Linked DNA regions of Homo sapiens: region 2 is linked to region 1. The links are contacts of gene promoters, found by promoter capture Hi-C in human tissues and cell types (Jung and others, 2019). All regions are on one chromosome and are shown on one strand. The core of a region is centred on a gene start or on the middle of the fragment in contact, and the rest is flanking DNA. Distances in the headings are between cores, read along the strand shown.

The links. Contacts are between HindIII fragments. The study calls those that stand out against the background at their distance.
Region 2: the fragment with the promoter of HIPK2 here is called in contact with the fragment with the promoter of UBN2 in region 1 in 2 of the 25 tissues and cell types used here (heart right ventricle and thymus).

Annotation. Positions count from the first base shown.
Region 1 is chr7:139,229,351-139,234,162 of GRCh38, reverse strand. UBN2 (ubinuclein 2) reads right to left here and starts at 2,926. Exons shown (of 18, transcript NM_173569.4): 1 at 2,211-2,926. The coding sequence starts at 2,678. RefSeq lists silencers at 1,710-1,969, 1,916-2,135, 2,346-2,595 and enhancers at 2,766-2,905, 2,986-3,145. The HindIII fragment of the contact is 19,376 bases long and covers 1-4,812 here.
Region 2 is chr7:139,776,748-139,781,559 of GRCh38, reverse strand. HIPK2 (homeodomain interacting protein kinase 2) reads left to right here and starts at 3,562. Exons shown (of 15, transcript NM_022740.5): 1 at 3,562-3,955. The coding sequence starts at 3,937. It also overlaps a transcript of TBXAS1 not described here. RefSeq lists silencers at 3,217-3,446, 3,877-3,966. The HindIII fragment of the contact is 11,506 bases long and covers 260-4,812 here.

The DNA.
Region 1 (4,812 bases), core at 1,677-4,176:
CAATTCTAATGTTCGCATTTTGCTTTTTGATGGTCTCTCTTCTAGGATTTCCTTTCATGAAACCATGACAATTTTACTTAAACATATGTTTTCTATGCTTTCTTGCATAATAAGGATATACACTGGCAGCAATCACAGGAAAATGTGGCAAATCTTTGTTGCAAAGGTGATTATATACAATGGATTTTGTTTTGTTCAGAGGTATATGAAAAAAATAGAAGGTTGATATACGAGATAATTGGGCCAATAGACACCTATACTGTTAATAAGTATACAGAAAAATTAAATGGAATTTTTCCTCTTTCTCCTATTGCATGAAAGTAGTAGTTCTGGTGTTATCAAGTTAACAAAGCTAGGGTGTCAAACCTTTTTCTTTTTATAATTAAATGATACACATTATTAATTTGCCATCGTGTGAATATTACAGCATAAACAGAGACATAATAAAGGTCTTTGTATTTCTACTGCGACTTACATTTTACGTCATTTTGGCAGAATCCTCTAAACTATATGAGTTAATTTTAAGAAATTTTGTTTTACTAACAAATTGTATCACTATGGAAAGAAGTACTAATAAAATTACATACATTTGTAAAGTGAGGATAATAGTTTTTACCTCGTGGAGTTCTGTTGGACTACTAGAAAAACCATGTGCAGTGCTTAGAACTGTGTCTAGCACACAGTAAGAACCAGTAAATGTCGTTATTGCTATGTATTTTTATCCAAAGATAATGCTTTTCTCCTGTAATTTATGAAAATTACAAAAACTGCAAACCAACTTAGATTAGCAGCTCAAATACAATGTTTGAAAAATGCTCCAATCCAATATTTTTAATATTCTTTTGGGAAAAAAGTGACCTCAGATTTATAAAGAAGGGGCATTCAAGTGAGTCTGACGAGCAAAATGTTAGGTGGAAGTGACCAAAATGATCTCTACCTTTAAACAATTCATTTTGGTTGAAAACATTTTGTAATGATTTGACCACATAACATTTCTAAATAATGATCAAAACATTAGCTGGCCATGAAGTAAACAAAACCTAGTGAAATTGTTCAACATGATACTTTGTGACTAAGCAGTCAGTCATTTTGACCATAAAGGTAGTTGAAGATGAAAACAAAACAAGGGACTTCTGGAGTCCATTAGACTCAAGCTAAAGCAAAACCTAATAACGGGTATAATTGCTAAGCAACAGAGAAAACTGTTCTCTTTCCTTACTGTTAATCTATCATTTCCTTTTCTAACTTACTTCTGAAGATCCACCAACCCACAACAATAAAAATTACAATTACGAACATAACCCCTATCCTTTCTCCATTGTTCACCTCTTACATCAAAAGCATACCTATATATTTTCAATTATTTTAAAAAATTCAAAGCTGACATTTTTTTCATCATCCTCCGAAAATTACAAAGGCTGAATACAATATCCTTCTATAAACTAATGATAGTACACTTAAATAATATGACGGGTAGGTGTCAAATAAAACAGGAGACACCTTCCCATTCAATTACAATATGAACGAACTCCACAAAAAAGGAAAGCTAAAAAGGTTTTCCAATACCAACACGAGAGAAAAATTAGTAACCAGATTAACTAACCCACTTCTCCATTCCTAAAGTGGGATCCTTAGTCTCTGAAAACCTTTAATTATTCTTAAATTCCCTTCGATTAAGAAAAATATCACAGGCACGCAAGCACACCTCAGCAGCCACGGCGCCCAGCAAAACAAACAGTGATGAGGATGAGGATGATACGAGAGGGGTTACACAATCTCTGCTTCAGACTGGGGGGCGTGTCCCCCAAGGTTTTCTCTTCCTTTCTACTGGAACGACAGCTGTAGCGCCACAGGGAGAACCCAGCCACACGGCCTGCAGGGCCCCAGGATTTTGTGTGGGGAGCAGAAAGGAAAGAAGGAAAATCTGAGGTTCCGAAAGGTGCACAAGAAAACGAGCTCGGCGCGGCGTTGGGAGCGAGTGCCGGGGGTTTGGGGATTCGGCGCAGCCGGGTGAGAGCCTCGGCCACCCTGGGGAGTGGAGAAAGCAGCGCTCACCGCCCCGTCCACCCGCTCGGCCCCGGCCCCCCGCACCCCACCCTCGGGGCGACCCGGACGCGCTCGGTGGGCGTCCCAAGGTGCAAACCAGCTGGGGAAGGCGGCGGGTCCTGAGGCTCCCGGGGTCTGGGGCAGGAGGGAAGAATCTTCTGTACCCGTTGTTCTCCGCACAGCAGCAGCTCCGGGTAACTGAACTCCACGCAGCTCTCGTCGGTGGGGTCCTTAAGCACCAGCTCCAGGCGCACCGTCTCCCTCGGCGGCCGCGGCGGCTGCTCAGCCCGGGAAGCCGACTCCCGCGGCGGGGGCGGCTGCAAGGGCAGCGGCGGGAACGGCGGCGGCGGCTCGGGCCGCGGGGGCTCCCGCTGCAGCGACATGGGCGGCTCGGCGCGGCTGACCTCGCGCTGGGGGAGCGGCTTCTCCCGCGACGGGGGCTGCGCGTCCGAGCGGGGGGCAGGCTCCCGCGGGGCCGGCGGCTCCGCCCGGGCCGGCTCGCGGTACGGCTGCGGCTCCAGCCGGGGGGGCTCGCGGGGGTACTCGGGCTCACGCTCGGGCCCCGGGTACTCGGCCTCGCGCCGCCGCACCGGTGACAAGCTAATGAACGCTACTCTGCGCGGCTCCGCCATCCCCACTGTTCTGGCCCTCCGCTTTTGCTCGAGCCGGCGCTCGCTTCTACGGCGCGCTGCGTGCCTGCCCGCCCTTCCTCTTGCTCTCTGTCGCTTTTCTTCCCTCCACCACCCTCAGCCGTCTCCGCCGGCGCCACGGTGAGTGCGGACCGTGTCCCCTTCCCCGCTACTACGTTCTGATGGGCTTCACCGCCATCGCCAGGGTCGCCGCGGCCGCCATGTTGGATCCCCCACATAAATAGAAGCAGGCCGCTGAGCGGGCGCATGCGCACAGAGGAGACGCTCGCGTCCACTGTCGTGGCTGTTGCTCAGTTTTCCTCTTTTCCTCCCAACAGTCTGGAGTCCAGACAGGTCGGCGGAAGTGACGACATGGCTCGGCCTGTTTCCGTGGAAACGGAGACGCCGTCTGCACCCTTCCTCAAAGGGAGGGTTCTGGGGTTTCCCGAGCAGTTTACTATTCGCACCCGGAAACCAGAGGCGCTCCAGGAGCTTCCCGGGGCTAGCATCGGGATGGGACTGAGACCGACCTAGCCATTGGCGCCGGGTCTCCCGTGCTGGGTTCAAGGGAATTGGGGTTGTTAGCTGATTATTCAAGGCGGACTCTGGGCAAGGGTAGAGAGACGCGCCAGCCGTTGTGCCTGCCCGCCCTGTGTCCCCGTAGCCTTAAGTATCGAGGGAAAAAAGGAAGTGCCCAGCTTCAGCCAGACTAGCCCCAGCGGCTTCCCTCCCGAAAGCGCAGGCCTCCCCTTCCTCGACCTACTCCGGTTTCCCTCGCCCGGCCGCAGTGGGCGTTGCGTGGGGCAGGGTCATTAAATGTTCAATAACGCTTTGCAGTTGGAAAATTAACAAGCAGATGAGGAGTTCTGGGCTCATTCAGAAGGCCTAAACTGCTGAAATCATAGAAAACTTCTTAAGAGGGTTTAGTGGTATTTCAGGAAACGTACTGTTTATGAGAATGCTAAAGGACCCATTTCAGGATGGGGAAGGAATTGATTGGGCACGCCCCATAGGCTCACTTGTAATTAATTAATTGGAAGTCGGGTTTAAAAGGATAAGAATTACTGGCCATTTTAATCCATTGAATAAAAAGTAAATTTGAGGGCTCGCCCTTCACATCCTGAAGGGAATCCAAGCCTTCTGTTAATTGCATTAACTATTGAAAGCTCTTTTATTAAGTCAGTGTGACGTCATTGACAAATTCTGAGAGGGTTCCGTTTTTTCCTCTCCTGTTATTACTTTCCCTACTTGGACGAAGATGGTGATGAAATCTATGATTCCAAAGGTCTCTCCCAGCTCTAAAACCCTATCTTTTCTACTCGGCGCCATGTTTTACCTACATTATCTCCTTCCCTATTGCTCCTTTTCTGATTCTGAATTCGGGTCTCATTTTTAGATTGCCTTAGTGATACTTAAATGACCTTTCTGCCTTCAGTCTCTGTTCCCACCAGTCTTGAGACGGGGTCATATTAATGTCTCTAAAAGAGTTTTTATTATATCGTTCTCTGTTCTGGCTGCAACTTACCTACAAACTGAGTTCTATGTATGTATACTCATATTCAATATCCTCCACAATTTAGCTCAGAGACTGCAAACTGGTGGTCTGTGGGCCAAATCCTTCTACAGGTGTGTTACTTATCCAACATTATCTTCTAACTTCTCACCCACTGAGTTTTCCAACTTTTTGATCCATAACCCACAGTAAGACATTTTACACTGTAACCTAGAATATACACCCATATATACATAACACATATGTGCATATGTGAAATATAAGTTTCACAATACTTACCTACTGCTTAGGATAAAGTAAAAGCAACAGACGCAACAGAGTTAATTTAATATAAAATATTTTATAATACAGTGTAGAAAAAAATGTTAACATCATATAGAAGCAAATTAGGAAAGATTTTATTTAATGCCATGGAAGTTCTTGCCTGATCATAGGTTTATTGCACTCCAGAATTCATTAGGACAGTGGTACATGAACATCTGATCCACTGTGGTGCCTGATCTTTTTCTTCTTCTAAACTGATCAAAATTGAAAACCCTAGTTCAGATATATAGGCAGTCATGAATAGTAATAATGCGTATGCATGTTCTGCATAGTAATAAATTCTTCTTTAATCTTAGTCTG
Region 2 (4,812 bases), core at 2,313-4,812, 550 kb before region 1:
GCACCCAGCTGCTTTTCTGCTTTCATCTGACGTGGGCCTCTCAATAGCATGCAGCACTGTTGACCTTGCTGGGATGTTGAGGAATCCCCCGTCCTGGCTGTCCTCCAACTTCTCTGCCCTCTTGTCCATGGGGAGCTCTTTTTCCTCTTCCCATGTCTCAAATACTGGTACTCCCCAGGTTCTGTCACAGATCCTCTCTCCTCCCAGCTCCCATGCTCTCCTTCAGTGACATTTCACTGTTAGGTTTATACCTTGCTGCCACTTGACTGCAGTCACCGGAAGGAAAGGAGACAATTAGTATACTCAGTCTGCCAATTCATGAAGGAAAATCTAAGCTCATTTCAAGAATATTTTTCCGTTATATCATACGAACTTCGCTAGCTCAATTGAATGCATGTTTTGCATCTCATGGATACAGCTTCAGTCATGGTGGTCTGAAGAGAAGGTGGACCTCTGTCTGTATGGCTCCATCTTGTTCCCCTTCCATGGGACTCTATTTCCTTGCCCAAGATTGTTCCCTTCTTATGGGGAGGAGACTACCTGTAAAATGTTTTCGGTTGACACAAGTGATATTCATTTTAAGACTGCCTAGAATCACTCACTGCTAGACAGCAGCTGGGATGGACTTAGAGGCAGTTACTGAACACTGGTCAGTGCTGAATTCAGGGGCAGTCCTATAAAGCAGGGCCTTGCTCCAAGACGCTGCCAATCCAGTTATGAACACAGGGTACCTACACAGAAGACAAGAGTCAGCCATCTAGGGTGCGGGTATGCTGTGGACAACAGAGTGTGAGCAACAGGCAGGAAATGTTCTGTGAGCCTAAGGAAAGATGAGACAAAAGTCAGTGGGGCTGGTCAGAGGGAGGAGTTAGAATAATAATAACTTTTATTGAACCCCTACTATGTGTCTGCCCTCTATATAAAACTCTCTCTCTAATCTAACCCAGCCTCAGAGGCTGTGATGAGGACTATATGAAATGCCTTTTATCGAGTTTGTAGTGTTGTGCTGGACACAAGGGAGCATGCAACAAATTGCAGCTATCATCCATTCAACAAATATGTGTGCAGTACTCACCATGCGTTAGGCAATGCAGTTATTGGACATACAATCCAAAACAAGAAAAACATGGTTTCTGTCCTTACTGAGCTTACAGTCTAGAGACACCTTGTCCAAAATGGTAGCCACTAACCACCCATGGTTATTAAAATTAAAAATTCAGTTCCTCAGTCATACTAGCCACATTTCATGTGCTCCACAGACATAAGTAGCTACACTGCCATTATGGCAGCAAGTTCTAATGGCCAGCACTAGAAAGGGGCAGAGAGACATGCATGTAGGGTATGTATTAACAGGGAGTTACATACCTGTGTGGTGAAGGCTATGATAGAGATTTACAGATGCAAAAGGAGAACATTACTATTGTTCTCCTTCTCATAATCAAAATACAGACACTGAGGCTCAGAGAGGTTAAGCATTTTGACCAAGATCACATAGTTAAGTGGAAGAGCTAGGATTTGAACCTAGGTCTGACTTACTCCCACGCTATCTCGGGCTGTTTTGTGGAGGAGGTGAGCCAGGCACAGGTAGAATCTGCTTAAAGAGAGAAGATGGAGAAGGTACCCCTCTGGGAAAGTGGGTGGGAAAGTGACCGCTTGGGCAAAGGCACAGTGACAGAGATGGGTGAAGCTGGCACTGGGCTACAAGTAAACCAGTTTGGCTAGAGAAGCAGTGACTTGCTGAACTCATGTCCTTAGAAAGCTAAGTCAGGACTCGCCTGCCTTGATGAAAAGCCAAGGCACTCAGCCCCACCTGCAGAGGTTGAGTCCTTAGAGGATGTTAGCCAGGAGCGTGGCATGGCCAGAACCACGTATTATGAAGATGGCAATATTTAGGATGACCTGGGCCAAGACTAAAGTTAAAGATTGCAGGGAGGATAGAAGGGAAGGAGATAAATGACCGGTGTGGAGCAAAAAACACTAGAGTGGGAGCCACGAGACCTATTCCTAAGCTTCAATACTGTGTGACATTGGGCAACAGATTTTACTTCTCTGGACTCCATTTCTTCAACTCTAAAAGGGCAGGGCTGGCCCAGATGACCTCTGAGGTCCTTTTAGCAACAGTAGTCTAGGATTCTGCAAACGTGAATGGCATTAGGTTAAGAGAAGGGATAGGAAGTGTAGCATTGATTATGGGGGCAAGGAAGACCGCAGAGTACAAGATCACACAGAGGAAGGTGTCGTGATGTACCACTAAAAAAGTGTGAAAGAGCTTGCCTTTTTTGGGAAGGACTGAAGGATGGGAACGGAGGATGGAGACCGGAAAGGATAAGAAGTAGTGAGAAAATCACGAGGTTGTTTTTAAGAAAGTTATACAGTGTTAGAGATCATTATTTTACACAGATAGCTTTTCAACTTTTTTAAACCCACGATTCACAGACGGAAATAAAATTGACATCATGGTCCAGTACACTTGTCCAGTACCTATAATCGAAACAAAAGGTTTATGAAACAATAGTTGCCCTTACTAAGGGCAATGGACTCTAATATTTTCTATTGGATTCCATTTCGTTCTTTTTGAAAGCTGGTTGCCTTCCGCTGCATTTATTTTATGATCTATTACTGTGTCACGACCCACAGTTTTAAAAACAGTGCCTAAGAGGAGACTCAACAAGTCTTCCTAAGTTGGAGGGGATGGCAGGGCATCCTATCCAAGCATCCGGGAGGCAGCTGGAGAAGCAAACCTGGAGAGGCTCCCGGCTGGGGAGAGTCTGGAGAGTGTTTAGCGGAAGCCCTGATAGGAGAGAGCGCTGAGAAAAGCGAGGACCCAGAGAGTTGTGAGCTCCCATTCAAGTGATGGAGTGGCGGCCCTCGGGACAGTGTAGACGCGAGGAGGAGAAGATCAGGGTGGCGTGGAAGCCAGACTCCGGCAGGAACCCAGCGACCACCCCGGGGGCTGCATTTCCGCGGCGTGCACGGCAGGGCTTCGGTGCCTCTGACCTCGTGTGGCTTTCCGAAGCTCCTCCACTCACCCGCCCTCCTCCGGAGCACGGCGCGCGCCCACTCCTTCATTCATTCATTCCACTCCTACCTCCGCGAGCGCCAACCGGCTGTGAGATGGGCGAGCCACTTTGCCAGCGTGGGGCTCTCTTTCGGGTCGGTTCCCTCCCCGCCAGCACACGCGCGAACCCTCGCACCTGGGCACACACGCGCGCGCGTGCACACACACACACAAAGTTCTGGGGGCCCCTCTGCAGACCGGCTCGGCTGCGCTGGGCTCGGAGCCGTGCGCCCGCCGGGTCCAGGCCGGCCCTCTCACCCACTACCCGGGGCCCGCCCTGCGCCCAGTCCCCCCGCGCTGCGCGGCAGCCCCTCCCAGCGCGGTCCCCTCGGGCCGCCGGCGCGGCTCTGCCCTTCGGTTCGGCCTTCCCCGCCTCGCATCCGTGCCATCGGCGCTCGATTGCGCGCGGACTCCCTGTGGCTCTCCCGGCCCCGCGCCCCGCCCCCGCCCCCGCCCGCCGCCCCCCTCCGCCAGCAACTTTTGCGGAGCCCCCGCGCCCAGCCATGCTGAGCTGAGCCCCGCCGGCCCTGGCCGCGCGCTGCCCCCGGCTCCCGCCCCTCCGCGGATCCGCTCGGGGGCCGCGGCCGCTCGGCGCCTCGGCCTCGGCCGCTCCGCCCGCCCGGCCGCCCCGAGCCCCGAGCCCCGAGCCCCCCGCGCCGGGCCCGGGCGGCAGCGGCGGCGGCGGCGGCGGCGGCGCGCCCGGCCCCCTCCCCCGGCGCCGGCCACGGGAGGCGGTGATGCGGGCGCGGGCGGCCTCGGCTGCGCCGAGAGCGGAGACACAGGCTCAAGATGGCAGATTCCGACTGAGGCTGGGGGGGCCGAGCTCGCGCGCCGCTTTCCCGTCCCCGTTGCCATGAACCGCGGACACCCCGGCCCCGATGGCCCCCGTGTACGAAGGTAAGGGGCGCCCGGCCCCGCCGACCCCGCGCCCGCCGCCCTCCGCGGCCCCCGCAGCTTTGTTCTGCCCGCGGCCCCGCGCCCGCAGCCCCCGGCGCCTGCCCCAGCCCCCACCCGGGGCCCGAGGGGGCCGCGACCCCCTCCCTCGCCCGGAAGATGACCGGGACCCGGCGCCGGCAGGGTCTTGCTTCCAGGGCGGGGAGAGGGGCCGGGGGCGCAGGAGGGGAGGGGGCGTGTGCGAGGGTGGGCGGCTGCCCGGGGAGGGCAGGGACGCCGGGGAAGGCGGACCGGTGACTGTGCTTTTTATTTATTTGCGATAAATGAAGGTGATGCGGCTTAGCTTCCACCGCCCCCCCACATTACCTTTCGGAGCACCTCCTTTCCACTTCGCTCTCCGCCCCGCGCCCCTTCCCATTTCTTTCCGCGCCCACCCCACGCTCCTTTATTCTCCGCGAGCCTCCGATTTTGGGGGGGCTGTGGAATCGGAATGCACGGGGCTAGGTGGGGAGAGAGGAGAGAGATGAAAAGTCCATGTCAGAGCCAGGCAGAACAATGAAATAGGCGAAAATCTCCCCTCATTAGCGTGTGGAAGGGGACGTGGACTTTGGGTTTTCCAGCCGGGGGAGCGGCGGAGACGTTTTTCTGGCTCGGTCTGGGTCGATCTGTGTTGTGCACCTTCACCTGGCATCGGGGTATTTTTCCCCATTTGACTGCCTTTAGCAAGAAAGAAAAGAACGCAAGGCAGAAAAGCAGTAGGTCTGCCTCGCACACTGTCTTTCGTTTCTCTTCAGTCCGTTCTGTCAGCTTCCAGCCAGAAAGCAACCCAGAATCAACTAAGTTTTTACACTTCGATGTGT